2 separate regions of the Homo sapiens genome follow, and region 2 is linked to region 1. The links are contacts of gene promoters, found by promoter capture Hi-C in human tissues and cell types (Jung and others, 2019). All regions are on one chromosome and are shown on one strand. Each heading gives the region's core, a stretch centred on a gene start or on the middle of the fragment in contact. The rest is flanking DNA. Distances are from core to core; before and after follow the strand shown. Region 1 holds the start of YPEL1 (yippee like 1). Region 2 overlaps MAPK1 (mitogen-activated protein kinase 1).

Region 1 (6,683 bases), core at 2,566-5,065:
AGGAATCCCGGCCCCGGCCCAAGGCCCTGCAGGTGCCAGAGGGCCTACTGAGCAATGGGGTGAATAACGGCTCCTAACCCCTTTCTGGGGTGTGGGCAACAGTGGTTGGCTCCAGGATTTCCATTTTACTCTCACCTGCCAACAGGTTTTTGGTACTCAGCATCTGTATAGCAGGTGTAACGTCCTGGCATTTGCTGGCGGAATCGATTTCACCCTCTTGACTTCTTTCCTGAATCTATCTCGCACTGCTTGCTCCAAAAACCCTTAGCCCTCTATGTCTTGGCTATTGAGAACTTTCTTCAACCTCCGCTCAAATCTCTTGTCAAAATTCCCACTCCCTAGAGCTTTCACTGATTATTAGATCTAACTACTTAAAAACATTTACGTCAACTTCATTTAACTCTAATGAAAAGCATCACAGAACAGTTTGAAAGCAGGGGGGCTTCTATTGCTTCTTCATATTCAAAACAATTTTGTTTATTAGTCTTCCATGGAGACAAATATGTTAAAACTACAGGGTTGGCCAGGCGCGGTGGCTCACGCCTGTAATCCCAGCACTTTGGGAGGCCGAGGCAGGCGGATCACTTGAGGTCAGGAGATTGAGGCCATCCTGGCCAACCTGGTGAAACCCCGTCTCTATTAAAAATACAAAAATTAGCTGGCTGTTGTGGCGGGTGCCTGTAGTCCCAGCTACTCAGGAGGCTGAGACAGGAGAATCGCTTGAACCCGGGAGGCGGAGGCTGCACTGAGCCGAGATCACGCCACTGCACTCCAGCCTGGCGACAGAGTGGGACTCTGTCTCAAAAATAACAACAACAACAAAAACAAACAAACAAACTGCAAGGTAGGCTGGGCTCACACCTGTAAATCCCAACACATCGGGAGGCTGAGACTGGAGGATCACTTGAGGCCAGGAGTTTGAGATCAACCTGGGCAACACAGTGAGAACCCCAAACCTCATATCTACCAAAAAAAATTTTTTTTTTATATAGCTGGGCATGGTGGTGCACACCCACAGTCCCAGCTACTCAGAAGGCTGAGGCTGTAGGATTGCTTGAGCCCAAGAGGTTGAGGCTGCAGTGAGCTATGATTGTGCCACTGTACCCCAGGCTTGAGTGACAAAGCAAGACTCTGTCTCTCTAATATAACAAAACAAGGCTGGGCACTGTGGCTTACACCTGTAATCCCACCACTTTGGGAGGCTGAGGGGTGGCAGATCATCTGAGGTCAAGAGTTTGAGACCAGCCTGGGCAACATGGTGAAACCCTGTCTCTACTAAAAATACAAAATTAGCTGGGTGTGGTGGCACATGCCTGTAATCCCAGCTACTCGGGAGGCTGAGACAGGAGAATCGCTTAACCCTGGAGGTGGAGGCTGCAGTGAGCCGAGATCATGCCACTGCACTCCAGCCTGGGTGAGACAGAGCGAGACTCTGTCTCAAAAAATAAACAAATAAAGTAACAAAACAAAACTAACTGGGGGTGGTGGCTCACACCTATAATCTCAGCACTTTGGGAGGCAAGGGGGGAGGATCGCTTCAGCTCAGGAGTTTGAGACCAGCAACAGAGTGAGATCCTGTCTCTACAGAAAAATCAAAAAATTAGCTGGGTATGGTGGTGTGTGCCTGTGTTTCCAGCTACTCAGAAGGCAGGTGGATGGCTTGAACCTAGGAGGTTGAGGCTGCAGTGAGTGGAGACAGTGCCATTATACTCCAGCCTGGGTGACAGAATGAGACCTTGTCTCAAAAAACCAATTTGTTTGTTGAAATAAACAAACCAAAACAAACCAACAAAAAAAGAAAGAAAAAAGGAAAAAACCTATAGGGTAGCCTCTTTCCCTTTTCCTGCATCCCTGCCCCTTGACACAGGTGCTGGTGGAACTTAGTGAAGACAGGCAAGAATCAAGAACAGATGTTAGAGGAACACTGCTCTCAACCTAAAGAAAATAGCTTTATGGTGAGGTATAGCAGCTCAAGCCTGTAATCCCAACACTTCAGGAGGCTGAGGCAGGTGGATCACTTGAGCCTAGGAGTTCAAGACCAGCCTGGGAAACATTAAGTGAGACCCCAGTCTCTACAAAAAAAAATGTAAAGTTAACCAGTCATGGTGGTGTGCACCTGTAGTCCTAGCTACATGGGAGGCTGAGGCAAGAGGATCACTTGGGCTCAGGATGTGGAGGTTGCAGTGAGTCGTGTTTGTGCCACTGCACTCCATCCTGAGCAAGAGTGAGACCCTGTCTCAAACAAAGAAACAAACAGAGAAATGGCTTTATAAATTACAGTGATTCAAAGGTGAAAAGGCTTAATACCCACAGTTTAGTGACAAGAATGCACCCAGGTGTTTTTCATATTGGCAAGTGTACCACAGCAGTGTAGGATGGGGTAAGGATAGGGAGCACTGGGTGTAGGATATATTGGGATTGTCTGTACTATCTTTGCAACCTTTATGTAAATTTAAAGTTTTTCCAAAATAAGAAGTTATTTTAAAAGAAGACTATTGCTCAGATTGGTAATTAAGAGCGCTCAGTTATTATATAAATGCTCAATATGGGCCCAACCCGTAGGGGTTCCCACAAGTAGATGAGACTCTACCCTGTAGGGCCCAAGAGGAAACACCATGAAGGTCCTGGAGATCCTCTTATTCCTCAAACATGCCACTACCATTGCCTCGCAAGAGCCCTGAGGGGGACCAGTGCATGATTGTAAGACAAAATGACATCAGGATTAAGCACAGCTCCTGGCACCTGGCAGGGGCTCAGCAAACATTTGTCACATCTATAGCTTGCTCAGGTGAGGTGCCTGGAAAGTCTCCCCAGTGGTGGTAAACCTAGTCTTGGGACCTGAGTAGGGAATTAGGAGTGTCAGGGGCTGGTGGGTGGGAAGAATAACATTCTTAGCAAAGGAAACATCAGGTTAAGGTGGGTATGTTTTAGATAGAGGAAGAAGAAATGCAACGGAACAGAAAAAGCGTGGGGCGGGGAAATTGATGTCTTCCATGTTCATTATCTGCCTAAAATAGAATCTCAGCCTTTTTTCCATCCTTAGAATTCAGCACATAATTTGGACATCAAAGATGTCAATCAGAGCCAAGCATGGGGGAGGCGGACCCTGTTTAGATCTCTGAAGCTCAGGCTTTTGCAATCTCTGTTAACGAAACCTATGCCACAAGTGGTAAATACCGAGGACGCTCCATTTTAGTCATGATCTTTATGTGGCTACTTGAAAAGCTTTTCCGCCTTTCTGATAAACATTCCTAGGAGACCTCTTTTGCCCTCATTTCCTTGCCCAGTTGAGGCTGTATTTTTTAAGGAAGGAAAATCCAAAAATCAGGGATCTTGTCCATTTTCCCTATCTTTTCACGGCGGGGCGGGAGAAGAGGGACAGCGGGGGAGGTGGAGAGAAGAAACGGCGGGGGAATCAAAGATTAGGCGTTGTTGTCTGTGCCAAAACGGAGTGAGCCCAATATCAACAAATCAAAATCCAAAACGGAACAAAAAAGTCACAGGCCCGCCCTGCTCGCGCCCCCGCCCGCCCGGACGCCCAACAGGTGCTTCCCGGGCCCGCCCGCAGCCACAGTATCCTTGGGTGGCCACAAAGTAACCGCCCGCGCAGCTGCAGCCAGGCCCGCCCGTACTCACGGCCGCTCCGCGGTCCGCGCCCCGGCCCGCAGCGCCCATCCGGCCCGGGCCCCGGTCAGCGCGGGCTCGGCTCTCAGGCGTTCCCGGCGCGGCCCGGGACGCGCTGAGGCCGTTAACGCCTAGGCAGGGCGCGAGGCATCCTCCCGCCGCCGCCCCGCGGGCCGCCTGCCCTTTGTTTTGGAGCCGTAGCCCGGCCCAGACGCCGTTAACAGCCTTGGAGCGCGGCGCCGGCCAATCAGCGCGCCATGTCGCCAGCGCCCCGCCCCCATCCTGCCTCCGTTCCGCCCCGCGTCCCGCCTGCCCCGCGCGCCCCCGCCCCGCGCGCTCCGGGCCAAGGAGCTCCGCCAGCTCGCACCCGGCCGGGACGGGCAGGAGCCCACGTGCCGCGGGGCGCGCCGCACTCCCATTGGCTGACCCGCCGGGCGCGGCCTCGGAGCCAGCCTGTAAGGGCCGAGGGACACGGGGGCGGGGCCGCGCGGGGCGGGGCGAGAGCAGGGGCGGGTTCCGCGAGGAGCGCCGCGCTCGGACGCAGGCTGGCTGGGCAGGGACACTCGGCCGGCGGGGCTGGCGGTGGTGGTCACTCGTTCCTCCGGCTCGCGGGGATGGGCCGAGGGCGTGCAGGGCCCGCAGCTCCAGAGGCTGAGGCGAGCTTGCGCGCAGCCTCCTCGTCCAGCGCCGTGCACGTACCGCCCGTCCGCGCGGTCGGCCGCGTTGTAGGGGACGGACGTGGAGGCCGAGGCGAGCTTGTGTGCGCCTGACCAGGGCCCGCCTTGGCCGGACCCCTCCGCGGCCGGGTCCCCAGAATGCGGTCGTCCGTGCTGTCCCGTCCCCACCACCCTCTCTGAACCCAAGGACCTAACCCCCTAGGACCCCCTCGCCACGGAGGACCCCCCGGGTCTGCGTCTGGCCCCTCGCTCTGCTCCAGGACTGCCGCGTCAGACCCTACAGAAAGCCCCTTCCTCTGGGTAGTGCTCCCGACGCCCCGGCAGCCTGCGCCACCCCCACGCCTCTAATGTCACTGTTTTCTTGGTTCCGTATCCCTTCTTTAAAAAAATATATATTATTTGAAAATAGATATGTATTATTTGAATATATATATTTGAAGGCTGGGTGTGGTGGCTCACGCCTGTAATTCCAGTACTTTGGGAGGCCGAGGCAGGAGGATCATTTGAGCCCAGGAGTTCAAGAGCAGCCTGGGCAACATAGTGAGACACTGTACCAAAAAAAAAAAAAGAAAGAAATTAGGCATGGTGGTGCACACCTGTAGTCCCAGCTACCTGTGAGGCTGAGGCGGGAGGATCACTTGAGCCCAGGAGGTCGAGGCCTCAGTGAGCCATGATCGCGCTACTGCACTCCAGACTGGGTGACAGAGCGAGACCCTTCCTCTTGAACAAAAAAAAAAAAAAAGAAAAGAAAAAAACCAAGAAAACAACAAAACCTCTATTGAGGTCACAATGTATATAACATTGTTATCAGCGTCCTCTGGACGTATTCTCTTGTTTTCTGCAACCCACTGTGTATGTAAAGATCTCTTCAAGTCGCTAAATGTACACCTGACTCATAACTTAGATTGTGGCTGGATGTTGCCTTTTTTTTTTTTTTTTTTTTTTTCCTTGAGACAGGAGTCTCGCTGTGTCGCCCAGGCTGGAGTGCAGTGGTGTGAGCTTGGCTCACTGCAACCTCCTCCTCCTGGGCTCAAGCGATTCTCCTGCCTCAGCCTCCCCAGTAGCTGAGACTACAGTTGCCCGCCACTAGGCCCGGCTAATTTTTGTATTTTTAGTAGAGACGGGGTTTCACCATATTGGCCAGGCTGGTCTCGAATTCCTGACCTCAAGTGATCCGCCTGCCTCGGCCTCCCAAAGTGCTGGGATTACAGGCATGAGCCCACGCGCCCGGCCCCATTTAACTATTTTAAAGTGTACAGTTCACTGGTATTAAATACATTCATAATGTTGTGCAACCATCATCATCATCCCTCTCCAGAACTCATCTTGCCTAAGTAAAGCTCTGGACTCAAGAAACAATGACTCCCGTTTCCTTCTACCCCATGCCCCGCACCACCCCATTCTACTTTCTGTCCCTATGAGCTTGACTGCTCTAGGTGCCTCACATAAGTGAAATCATCTAGTATTTGTCTTTTTGTGGCTTACTGTGACTTTTGTGGCTCATTTCACTTAGCATAATGTCTGCAAGGTTCACCGATGGTGTAGCACTGTCACAGTTTCCTTCCTTTTTTTAGGCTGAATGATATTCCATTGTATGTAGATACCACATTTTGTTTCTCCACGCATCTGTCAGTGGACACCTGGCTTGCTGCTTCCATACTTTAGCTATTGTAAATAATGCCACTATGAACTTGATGGTACAAACATCCCTTGGCACCCCTGGTTCCAATTATTTTGGGTATATACCCAGAAGTGAAGTTGCTGGATCATATGGTAGTTCTATGTTGAATTTTTTAAGGCGATTACATACTGTTTCCCAACGTAACTGCACCATTTCACATTCTCTCCAACAGTGTACAAGGCTTCCAGTTTCTGCACATCTTCACCAACTGTTATTTTCTGTTTTTTGACAGTGGCCAGCCTGGTGCATGATGGGTTTGGTTTGCACTTGCCTCGTGATTAGTGGTGTTGAGCATCTTTCCGCGGACTTGGTGGCGTCAAGTGTTGTTAACTATGACCACGTGACCACATGACCTATTTCATTTTATCTGTACAACGTTTCTGTTTGGGGTGATAAAAAAATTTGGAATTGGTAGTGGGAATGGCTGTACAACAATGTGAATGCCACTGAATTGCACCCTTAAAATTGTTACAATGGGCCGGGTGTGGTGGCTATGCCTATAATCCCAGCACTTTGAGAGGCCCAAGTGGGCAGATCACCTGAGGTCAGGAGTTCAGGACAAGTCTGGCCAACATGGTGAAACCACCGTCTCTACTAAAAAAAAAAAATGCAAAAAAAATTAGCTGGGCGTGGTGGTGTGTGCCCGTAGTCCCGGCTACTCAGAGGCTGAGGCAAGAGAATCGCTTGAACCCAAGAGTTGG
Region 2 (6,640 bases), core at 1,301-3,800, 73 kb after region 1:
TCTTGAAGTCTCAACCTCTTTGCTCTCTAAATTGTCCACCATCAACGAACCCCCTCCAAGGTTTGCTGGAAACACTGTTAGCCTGTAAGTAGCAGATACTCCCTCCTCTGTTTGGTCCAGTAACCTGTAATGTCACTATTCTTTTTACTTCTTGTTGCCGCTCCCCTCCTCTCCCAAGCTCCTCAAAAGCCAAACATAAAACTTCCAGAAATACAGGTCTAGAAACATACTCTTACTAGTAAATCCAACCCTAAGTCTATTTTCTTGACTCTTCCATTACTGTTAAGATCTTAAATAAGTAAGACTATGGGCAAGTCGTTCTAAGAAGGGGTTTGTGCTAGTTTTCCTCCTCATGCTTTCTTGCCTGGTCACGTACTTAACTACCTAAAAGTTTAGCTATGGCTACTTTCTTTCTCACAGAAATTAAATTATTAAAGCATTTAGCCTTTAACTTCATCATAGTATTATTTCATTAGCAGTATTTCTACATTTCTTTTACTCACTTCTGTGTAAACACTAGTCTCTGTTTCTTACAGATTTATGCTATAGGAGGCGCAGCATGGGATTCAAAGGAAACATGATTTAAAAATCTGTCATCTGAGAGAGGCTTATTTTCATGGCAAAAAGTAAAGCAGGACCAACAGGTGGTAGTGGCAGGAGGCATTTCACTTCAAATATCACTACAACTTATTAACAGAGCTGTTTAAAAATGGAAAGGGCTGCCTAGAAACAGCGAGCTCCCGCACCCTGGAGGGGCGGAATACAAATTGGGTAAACTGGTAGGAGTGCTGTATAACCCTTTCCCTTCTGGCAGATCCTCTTCAGTATACTTAACCTCTCTATCTTTCAAATGGAGCCTTTACCCAGGCAGCATCCTCTAGATCTGTTCAGTCCAGATTTCTAAATGTTGGTCAGAGTTAATCACATAATTTCAGACCTCAGTTGACCTTAAAGATCATGACGACCAGTTCCTTCATTTTAAAGGTGGGGAAACTGAGACCTAAAGTGGTAACCTGACTCTTAAGATCAGGACAGTCCTGATTTCACCAGGTAGATAGCCAGGGCACCCTCTTTCTTAGTCTACTACTGATCTTCCCTTTACCTTTTCATCATCACAACAAACCATCCCTTGGACAGAAGAAACATGACTGCAAACAGAGTTAACCAAGATTTTCCATGACTAGACTTAGGGAGTAAATAGCAAACAGATTACGATTTTCCCTTTAGCATGTTTAATGCACTTTTCCTTTAAGTTCAGGAAATTTCAAGTTCTATTTACTCAACAAGGTTACCAAGCAGTGGAATTGGCCAGTTGCCTAAAAAGGATACACATCTTTCATTTGCTCGATGGTTGGTGCTCGAATAATGTCATTGATTCCAATGATGTTCTCATGTCTGAAGCGCAGTAAGATTTTTATCTCCCTCAGGGTTCTCTGGCAGTAGGTCTGGTGCTCAAAGGGGCTGATTTTCTTGATAGCTACTCGAACTTTGTTGACATTATCATAAGCAGAGCTTAAAAAAGAGAGAGAGAGATGGCATTAAAAACAGCCCTCAGAATATTTGAAGAAGGCAAGTTGGTAAAGTATTATATTTTTAACACTGTGTAAACACCTGTTTCATACCCGTGAAGGCAGCATGTATATTATCCACAAAAAGGCCTCAAGCTAGGGAGGATGGATGCAACTGACATGAGAGAGCACACAGTGACTCTCAAAACTAACAGAGAACCTAGCCCTGTTAACTGGGTGAAAGTCTTGCCTTTATAAACCCAGAAATACACAAACAAGCATTCTCCCATTGTCTTAAACAGCAACTGCATTCTGGTGAGAGTAATCACTTCTGTCTCTGAAACACCTTCTTACTGTTGTATCAAATTCCTCTGACACAGAAGAAACATTCAAATAACCTACAACTGTACATCTTTATCCCTAACAAAAATGGACCCAAGAGAACACCTTGATTACTTCTATTAACTTTGTTTCTCTCACTTGCAAAACAACATGACCATTTCTTCCCCCAAGAAACTGAATCAAGATGTTTGGGTAGTTTTATAACAAAACCTAGAAAAGTATTCTTCAAAAAACATATTTGTGGCAATAACATGGGGCCCAGTTCTTTCCTAGTTGTCCTTAATGTCTGATAAACCAGAATTATAAGCAAAAGCAATAATAAAAATTATACCTTCAATTTTATGAATTTGAATCTTGAGTATTACTACTATCTTTATGATAAACATTCTATTACAATCTTGTGTATAAGAAATTTTCATATTAATAAATGTCAACATCTGGCCCACTGACCAAAGCAATCAAATAACATTGACAGGCAGTAAGACAACATTTCTTGTTTCCTTGGGGTAAGTGCTAGAATAGAAAGCAGTAAAATAACTTTATTCTAAAATTTATGCTTCTAGGGCCGGGTGCAGTGGCTCACACCTGCAATCCCAGCACTTTGGGAAGCTGGGGCGGCTGGATCACTTGAGGACAGGAGTTTTGAGACCAGCCTGGACAACATGGTGAAACCCCGCCTCTACTAAAAATACAAAAAAATTAGCCAGGCATGGTGGCAAGTGCCTACAATCCCAGCTACTTGGGAGGCTGAGGCACAAGAATCACTTGAACCTGGGAGATGCACGTGGCAGTGAGCCAAGATTGTACCACTGCACTCCAGCCTGGGCGACAGAGTGAGACTCCGTCTCTAAATTAAATAAAGTTTATGCTTCTATAATATTTATCAGTCTACTAATCCTAAGAATTATTGATACATTTGTCTGATTCTATGACAAGATAATGCTCTGGAGGAGAACTTTGTCTTACTAGGATCCAATTATCCTACAACACCATTAACATATAGTACACAGGTGGCCCCAAATGCTTTGAAATGAAGTATATTTTCTTAAGTAAAATAACCACTACTCAAATCTTATTTTGCTTTGGTTTGGTACATGAGGCCCTAAGCCAGTGATTTTCAGTTAGGCAACAGCATATATAATAGTAATAATTTAACATAGTATTAAAAAGCATATATAATAAGCAAGCTTATTCAATATTGGGAATATTTTTAGAAAAAAATTCTATTTTGGTAATTCAAATCATAGAACAAGAGTTCAACAACAGCACGGATTAGTTATAAAATGCTGGTTTAAACTCAACATTACAATTTTCTAGTGTTAATATTATAAATTTCTAGTGTTAACAGTCACAAGTGGTCATAATTTGTTCTGCAAAATTATAATCCAACAAAATTTTTGGAGAGAGGAGTTTATGGTCAGTGTGCCCCTCTACTGTATCAACACTCAGTGACGAAATAACTGCCCTCCCCCCCGGCCTCTTTAAAATTTTTTTGTGGAAGCAGTCTCGCTCTGTCGCCCAGGCTGGAGTGCAGTGGTGCGATCTTGGCTCACTGCAAGCTCCCCCTCCTGGGTTCAGGCCATTCTCCTGCCTCAGCCTCCCGAGTAGCTGGGACTACAGGCCCCGCCACCACGCCTGGCTAATTTTTTGTATCTTTAGTAGAGACGGTGTTTCACCGTGTTAGCCAGGATGGTTTCAATCTCCTGACCTCGTGATAGGCCCCGCCTCGGCCTTGCAAAGGGCTGGGATTACAGGGTGAGCCACCATGCCCGGCCAACTGCCTCCTTTTAAGTAAGAAAATATGAGATCATCCTCATCTGGTCCCACTTGAAAAAAAGGAGTTTTGTCTGTTCCTGTCTGCTCCGCTTAACCATTCTGCTGCCTTTTTGGTTTATGCAATCTATCTTTCATAGAACTGATGACAAAGAGGGTTACACTCTTCCATAATGATTCCATACTTGCTAGTTTCTCCTTGGATTTCTCGGTTTTGTTTTACATATTTTATTGTTGATACTTGGTAAATAAGGCATACCATGAACTTTCAGGTGTCTATAAACATTTATGCTTTAAAATCACTTTGACATTACCAACTGTGTCTTGTTTTGCTCAACCCCTTTTGTCCCTAACTACCACCACACTACAGGTTTTTGCTATAAGTGTGTCTCTTATCACAGGAATCCAAAGATGGTTCATTAAAAAAGAAGGCCGGGTGCGGTGGCTCATGTCTGTAATCCCAGCACTTTGGGAGGCCAAGGCAGGCGGATCATGAGGTCACGGCAGGCGGATCATGAGGTCACGAGATTGACACCATCCTGTCCAAAATGGTGAAACCCCATCTCTACCAAAAATACAAAAATTAGCTGGGTGGGGTGGTGCGCGCCCATAGTCCCAGCTACTTGGGAGGCTGATGCAGAAGAATGGCTTGAACCCAGGTGATGGAGGCTGCAGTGAGCCAAGATCGCGCCACTGCACTCCAGCCTGGTGACAGAGTGAGACTCAGTCTCAAAAAACAAAAAAAAAAAAAGTGGGGGTCAGTCCTAATGGGTGTGTGGTGATAGCTCATTGTGGTTTTGATTTGCATTTCTCTGATTCATGATGATGACCATCTTTTCTTATGTCTTCTTTTGAAACGTGTATTCAACGTTATGCCTTTTTTTTTTTTGAGACGGAGTCTCGCTATGTCGCCAGGCTGGGGTGCAGTGGCTCAATCTCGGCTTACTGCAACGTCTGCCTCCTGGGTTTATGCAATTCTCCTGCCTCAGTCTCCTGAGTAGCTGGAATTACAGGATCTCCTGACCTGGTGACCCGCCTGCCTTGGCCTCCCAAAGTGCTGGAATTACAGGCGTGAGCCACCCACCACGACCAGCCAGGACTGCCACTATTTAAAAACAAACAAACAAACAAACAGAAAACCGTAAGTGTGATGTGGATAAATTTGAACCTTCATACTCTATTGTTGAGTGTGCAAAATGGTGTAACCACTTGGAAATTCCTCAAAAAATTAAAAATAGAATTCCCATATGGTCCAGCAATCCCACTTCTGAGCATATATCCAAAACAATTCAAAGTAGAATCTCTAAGAGCTACTGGCAGGTTCATTGTGCAGCATTACGCACAATACCCAAGATGTGGAAGCAACCGAAATGTCCACTATGGATGAATGGATAAAGAAAATGTAGCATATACATAGAGTGGAATATTATTCAGTCTTTAAAAAAAAAAAAAAAACCACACACACACACAAAGAAATTCAATTCAGCATCCAAAAACCATGCCTAATTGTTTTTATTATTTATTTATTTATTTGAGACAGAGTCTCGCTCTGTCGCCCAGGCTGGAGTGCAGTATCGCATCTTGGCTCACTGCAAGCTCCGCCTCCTGGGTTCTCGCCATTCTCCCGCCTCAGCCTCCCGAGTAGCTGGGACTACAGGGGCCCACCACCACGCCCGGCTAATTTCCTTTTTTTTTGTATTTTTGGTAGAGATGGGGTTTCACCATGTTAGCCAGGATGGTCTCGATCTCCTGACCTCGTGATCTGCCCGCCTTGGCCTCTCAAAGTGCTGGGATTACAGGTGTGAGCCACCGCACCCGGCCAATTGTTTTTAATTTAAAAACTTTTTGGTAGATATGGGGTCTCACTATGTTATCCAGGCTGGTCTTGAACTCCTGGTCATAAGTGATCCTCCCACCTCAGCCTCCCAAAGTGCTGGGATTACAGGCATGAGCCATTGTGCCTGGTCTGACTTAATATTCTTAAAGTGTCTACACTACTCAGTGTGGTCTGCAGAGTCAATGTAATCCCTATCAAAGTTCCAATGGCATTTTTCACAGAAACAGAAAATGTAATCTTTAAATTCATATATGGAACCACAAAAGATCCCATATAGCCAAAGCAATCCTGAGCAAGAACAAAGTGGTGGCTTCACATCACTTGATTTCAAAATACACTACAAAGCTATAGTAACCAAAACAGCACAACACTGCGGGGATAGGGTGAAATGTGCAGATAATTTGTTAGAGTATAAAGTTTCAGTTAACCAGGATGAATAAGTTCTAGAGCTCTATCCTACAGCATGGTGACTACAGTTAATAATAATGTATTATATACTTGCAAATTACTAAAAGATTAGATCTTAAACATTCTCACCACAAAAAGTATGTGAGATGACAGATATGTTAATTACCTTGCTTTAATCATTTCACAATATACACATATATCAAAACATCATGTTGTATATCATGAATATATACTAATTATTTTTCCAGCACTTCCACCTCAGTTTCATATACTAATTTGTATTTGTCAATTATACCTTAATAAAGCTGGGTGGGGGGCAGGGAATCAGCATGGTACTGGCATAAAAACAGACAAATAGACAAATGGAACAGAATAAAGAGTCCAAACATAAAGGATAGTCTCTTCAATAAATGGTGCTGGGAAAATTGGATATCTACTTGCTAAAGAATAAAATGGATACTTATTTCACACCCTATACAAAAATCAAATCAAGACAGATTAAAGACAAAAATTGTAAAACCTGAAATTATAAAAACTAGAAAAGGCTGGGCGCAATGGCTCACCCTGTAATCCCAGCACTTTGGGAGGCCAAGGCGGGTGGATCACGAGGTCAGGAGATCGAGACCATCCTGGCTAATACGGTGAAACCCTGTCTCTACTAAAAATACAAAAAAAAAAAAAAAAAAAATTAGCCGGGCGTGGTGGTAGGCGCCTGTAGTCCTAGCTACTCGGGAGGCTGAGGCAGGAGAATGGCGTGAACCTGGGAGGCAGA

The links. The method cuts DNA at HindIII sites, captures the fragments that hold promoters and counts their contacts. A contact is called where the count stands out against the background at its distance.
Region 2: a fragment that was not itself captured here is called in contact with the fragment with the promoter of YPEL1 in region 1 in 2 of the 25 tissues and cell types used here (aorta and mesenchymal stem cells).

The regions. Positions count from the first base shown.
Region 1 is chr22:21,731,979-21,738,661 of GRCh38, forward strand. YPEL1 (yippee like 1) reads right to left here and starts at 3,816. Exons shown (of 5, transcript NM_013313.5): 1 at 3,637-3,816. RefSeq lists silencers at 3,465-3,514, 3,535-4,384. The HindIII fragment of the contact is 30,524 bases long and covers 1-6,683 here.
Region 2 is chr22:21,806,335-21,812,974 of GRCh38, forward strand. It overlaps MAPK1 (mitogen-activated protein kinase 1), which reads right to left. Exons shown (of 9, transcript NM_002745.5): 2 at 1,330-1,512. Among named protein-coding and RNA genes, the nearest start is that of MAPK1, 58 kb to the right of the region's middle. RefSeq lists a silencer at 5,197-5,411. The HindIII fragment of the contact is 4,729 bases long and covers 187-4,915 here.